2 separate regions of the Homo sapiens genome follow, and region 2 is linked to region 1. The links are contacts of gene promoters, found by promoter capture Hi-C in blood cells and fetal thymus (Javierre and others, 2016). All regions are on one chromosome and are shown on one strand. Each heading gives the region's core, a stretch centred on a gene start or on the middle of the fragment in contact. The rest is flanking DNA. Distances are from core to core; before and after follow the strand shown.

What was found. The method cuts DNA at HindIII sites, captures the fragments that hold promoters and counts their contacts. A CHiCAGO score of 5 or more calls a contact.
Region 2: a contact is called between a fragment that was not itself captured here and the fragment with the promoter of SLC25A13 in region 1, in 3 of 17 cell types (neutrophils, monocytes and M2 macrophages). The highest score is 9.1, in neutrophils.

The regions. Positions count from the first base shown.
Region 1 is chr7:96,320,742-96,323,440 of GRCh38, reverse strand. SLC25A13 (solute carrier family 25 member 13) reads left to right here and starts at 1,343. Exons shown (of 18, transcript NM_014251.3): 1 at 1,343-1,499. The coding sequence starts at 1,485. RefSeq lists a silencer at 1,208-1,547. The HindIII fragment of the contact is 9,010 bases long and covers 1-2,699 here.
Region 2 is chr7:98,126,037-98,128,735 of GRCh38, reverse strand. The region is part of intron 1 of LMTK2 (lemur tyrosine kinase 2); the gene reads right to left. Among named protein-coding and RNA genes, the nearest start is that of LMTK2, 21 kb to the right of the region's middle. The HindIII fragment of the contact is 7,179 bases long and covers 1-2,699 here.

The DNA of each region.
Region 1 (2,699 bases), core at 94-2,593:
ATAATCCCCACATGTCATGGGAAGGACCCGGTGAGAGACAACGGAATCATGGGGGCGGTTACTCCCATGCTGTTCTTGTGATAGTGAGTTCTTATGAGATCTGATGGTTTTACAAGGGGCTTTCCCCCCTTTGCTTGGCACTCATTCTCTCTCCTGCAACCCTGTAAAGAGGTGCCTTCCACCACAACTGTAAGTTTCCTGAGGTCTCCCAAACCATGCGAAACTGAGTCAATTAAATCTTTTGGTTTATAAATTACCCAGTCTCAGGTATTTCTTCATAGTGGCATGAGAATTCTCAGTATTCTTATTGAGCCCTGGGAACAGTCTGCTGCCTTAACAGGTTATACTGAAGTAAACATTTATGTGTCTCTTTCCCAATAGCCCTGAAGCTGTTTAACGGTTGGAACCAGTTCTTAAGTCATTTCGGGGTTTCCAGCACCAAGCACAGTGCCTAGCACATAGTAGGAAGGCACTCAATCAACGTTAATGAATTAAACTGATTAGTAATAAGTGCTTTTTGCTGCCATATTACATCCACAACCTACAATACATTAAAAGTCCTTTTCCCTGATCACCACTGTCTTATAAATTTTGATTACAAGGACAGAAGAATGAAATCCTGATGAAGAGGAGTAAGGCCTGGAGGTCATATAAGCAAATTTTCATTAAAATGCTTGTTTATTTATTTTAGTAGGGCCTATTTGGGGGAAGTCTTTTGACCCGGGCCTTTTGACTTCTACCGTTTTAACAGGTAGGGCTGAAATGGAGTAGTTTCATGAATATACGTTCTGCACTACATTCACTTGTTGGGTTCTTAAGAGTTCACCGATTTTGATCTAAAAGTAGGCGTGCCAGCAATATTTGCAATCTCGCCTTCTAAGTCAATGCTTTTGGATCAAAGTCTTTTTGGATCCAGTGTAAAGTGGAGCTCCTTCAAAGGGAACGCACAGGGGAAAAAATATCCAGCAAAGTATGTGTCCTAGTGGAGTTCTCAACTTCCCCAGGCCGTGCACCATCTGTCGTTACTTGCCCCTCCCATCGGTCCGAGGGCCCAGTAGCCCCTGGTATCAGCAGAAGCCAGCAGCTTCCCTGGTGGGGCCACCTGCCCTCAGGTGACGGGCTTGCACACGGCCAAGTTACCTCTGCCCACGCCGCAGAGGCCGCCGCTGCTGGACAGCGCAGCGGGGTCACGTGTCCCTGTCCAGCCACTGCCCCAGGATCTGAGCCCTCCCCGGCTGCAGGGCAGAGGCCGCTGGATCACGCGCACCCCGGCGGCCAAGGCTGGGCCCAGCCAATGGGCGGGCAGCATCCACATGACCCGCGCCGGCGGGAGGGCGTGGGGAGGCAGGCCAGGAACGCACGCTGCCTGGCCGTATCGCCGCCCCCACCGCCGCCGCCGCCGGGACTAGAAGTGAGCCGCCCGGGTCCCAAACGCCAGCCAGCCAGTCAGTGGGTCCCGCAGTCGCCCGCAACCGGGGCGAATCATGGCGGCCGCCAAGGTAACCGCGGGCCCGAGGCCGGGGGGAGCGCGCCTGCCGGATCAGCCTGGGGGTGCGAGAGGCTCGGGCGCTCACGTGTCTGGGTTGGTGCCACAGGCGGAGCAAAATGGGGTGCCGGGCAGCCGTTCCACCTTGCGGCTGCTGGAGGGAGGGGGCCACTCCTCCCGGGCAGCACAGGCGGTCGGTGCAGAGACCGAGGCCCGACCTCGCAGCGGAAACTTTGTGGGCCGGACACTCCCACTTGGCCGGGGAGGGAAGTTGGTGCCTGACGGGGCTGAGCCAGGGCCGACGAGGAGGAGCGGGCGCGACTGGGGCCTGGTGCACCCTGGGCCGGCAAGCGCTGGGGGTCCTCTCTACCTTCCCAGCGCGCTCCTGCTCCTGACCCCGCTGGTTGTTGACTCCGGCTTCTTCCAGGGGCCAGAGCCCGGGCTGAAGCCTGATCCTATTACGTTTCAAGGGCTCCGCCCTCCCGCGGGTGGGGAAGTTACTTTGACTTCCGTTTTGGAAACTGCCTAGGAGACTTGGTCTGCGCCTTTGTGAATAAAAAGTCCAGGGACTCTCCCCCTCCCCGCTTTCCCATCATTCCCATCTTCCCCCTCCCTCTCTCCATCTGACAACACTTAGATACCCGCCTCGGAGCATTTGAGAGGCTTCTTTTTGGGAACGATGAAACAGATTGTCCTGGGAGCCTGTCACTCCTGTGAAGTTGTACTTGAAAGGGGTTCTGTGTAATGTGAATCATTCACTAACCCAGAGGAAAGGCAACTCCAACACTTGACCTTTCCTCTTTCACCATTTCTTGAAACCTGGACACCATTTCAGTCTCTTTGGACTGCATTTCAACTTCTCTGGCAGAATACCATATTTAGTCCCAATCACTTGAATCATTTGGAATTTATTGCTTTTAATTTAAGTTCACGAAGGCAGCCCTCTAATCAAGCCTATACAACTTCTTAGCTCATTTTAAGTGCAGTGAACTTAAATATACCTAACATTTCAAACATTTGTCCTTAATCAAAACTCTGTGATAACCCTCAAGAGGAAAACATGGCCAACACATCATATTCCTATTTATTCAAGCAAACTAATCACATTTGCAATGGAAATTGTAAGCAGACAAATATATTTAAATGCTGTTCTATGACTTAAGTCTCTCCAGGCTCCCCAAATCCGTAGGCTTCTTCATGTTGTTAGTTTCTG
Region 2 (2,699 bases), core at 92-2,591, 1.8 Mb before region 1:
AGAATCCAAAGGCAGCCTCTTCCCCAGGGAGCCCCTGGAGCACAGGACTCAGAAGAAAGCCCCACACACGGGCAGAGCCACAGCCCTCGGACCTCTATGCCAACGTGTGTTTAGGAACAAAACAGGAATCTTAATTGGTGCCATCTAAGATGTGATTTAAATTTGTTTTAGTCTGAACACTGCGCGTATCAGTTTGCTAGGGCTGCTAAAACAAAATACTACAGGCTGGGGGTTTCAACAGCAGAACTTGACTTTCTCACAGTCCTAGAGGACTAGGTGTCGGCAGGGCTGGTTTCTCCTGAGGCCTCTCTCCTTGGCCTGTGGACAGCAGCCTTCTCCCTGCATTCTCAAAGGGGCTTTCTTCCGTGTGCATCCCTGGTGTCTCTGTGTGTGTCTAAAGTTCCCCATTTTACAAGGACAACAGTGAGAATGGACTACGGCCCGCCCTCAGGACTCACCTGTTTAAAAGGCCTATCTCCAAATACAGTTATAGTTTGAGGTACATGGAGGGGTAAAACTCAGCCCCTAGCACTGTGTCAATTTACTAATCTTTTCACCTTTTTAATTATTTATTTACTTATTTATTTATTTAGAGATGGAGTCTTGCTCTGTCTCCCAGGCTGGAGCACAGTGGCGCGATCTTGGCTCACTGCAACCTCCACCTCCCGGGTTCAAGCGATTCTCCTGCCTCAGCCTCCCAAGTAGCTGGTATTATAGGCACCTGCTACCGCACCCAGCTAATTTTTGTATTTTTTAGTAGAGACGGGGTTTCGCCATCTTGGCCAGGCTAATCTCAAACTCCTGATCTTAGGTGATCCACCCACCTTGGCCTCCCAAAGTGCTGGGATTACAGGCATGAGCCACCATGCCCAGCCTTAATTTTTTATTTTTAAGTGTACAAATAGGTGTATATATTTATGGCGTATGTGTGACGCTCTGATACAGGCATACAAAGTGTAATAACCACATCAGGGTATTTGGGGTGTCCGTCACCTCAGGCATCGATCATTTCTTTGTGTTAGCAACACTCCAATTCCACTCCTTTAGTTATTTTAACATATACTTGGTCCATGCATTAATTGAAGAAAGCCAATCCCACTGGCAGGGGTCCATCCTTGACAGCACAGACACAGGCATGAGGGCATCCTGCCTTCTAACTGGAAAAGCAAGTGTAAAGCAAGGGCCAGGTCCTTACACATCTCGCCTGTTTTCTGTTTTGCCCAGACCCTCTTGCCTCAGGGAATTTGCATAGGAGAATTCTGTGCCTACTTGAAAATTAACAATGGTGGCTACTTAGACAAAGGTTAGACAAAGAAAACTCATAGAACTGAGGGAAGCTAAGGGCCAGCAACCTTCCAAATGGGCCCAACATAAAGCCCATCTCTAAAACACATCGTTTGGGCCTTTTTCTCCTAGCACGTTAGGACCACTAAGCCTGTCTTCCTCTTCTAACACCCTGACAAGTAGCACTGCAGCCCAGAGACTTAATAAAATGAATCATCATCACACTACTTGGGGAAAAAAATCTGAACAATTATTGCAGATCACACATTTTTATTTAACGCCTCAAACTTACAAACCCATCTATCATCAAGGTTTCCTGTACACAGAATTTTAAGTCACAAAGTGTTTTCTTTGCCATAATATAACAATATATCTATTTATAAGAACATTAAATAACCTAGAATCTCCCTCAGGTATTCTAATATAGGAAAGGAAAAGGGAAATGAAGCGTGGCAGTAAATATACTCAGTCACACACAACAGTAAAGAGTGCACTGATGATCTCGTTCATGAATCAGAGATACCACAAAGACCCTAAGCCAGAATCTCAACAGCCTAGAGAAACAGATCGCTCTGTGTGCTAATCACAGACAGGGAAGAGTTCCTCTGTTCAAAAGTGATTTTCAAGGTCAGCCAGCCCAACTGCTCCCTCACACTTGCAGAAAGGTTATATAATTTGAGTGCTAATTAAATACCTGTGAATGAGATCATTTTATACGAAGCTGCTGGTTTCTCTCAGACTATTCCACTAAAATTTGTTATCAAAGTGCCATTTCATTCCCATTTTAAAACACTAACTAGGATGGAGACTACTACAGAAAAGCTCATCTAAGGCAGCACGGTGTGGCCAAAAGAATGTCGGGCTTGAATGACTTCTGCCAGATGACTGGGCCCCCACACCCCAAGAAATGAAAGGCTGGATATTCCGGAACTGGAACCTTGGTTAAGTTGCTGGCAGAGCTGAGCTATGGCGTCATCCACGGCACTTCCATGTCTTTAACAGCTTTGAATGGTGGTTCCACACTCCGGAAGCCGATGCAGGAACGGGAAGCATCTAGTCCCAGAAGGAGAGACTCAGAGCCAGATTCCCAGGGCTCAACCCCACAACCATCCCTGCAGTGGACCACCAACGTCTAGGGGAAGGATATTCTGTTTTGTCACACAACTTCCCATGTACGTCTGCAGAGATGTGCAGGCGAGTCAATGGCAGTACTAGATTCACAACACTTCGTCAATCCAACTTCTGCACAATACAGCTGAAAGATGGGAGAAGTGGCCTAAATGTCTGCTCCTTACTTCCCATGTAGGACAGACCCTAAATAACCTAGAAAAACATGTCTACTTTTTCTTTCAAATCTCCTACAATCCCTCGATGGAGTCTATGTTCTCAGAGCCCTGCTGGCTTCCTAAAGCCTA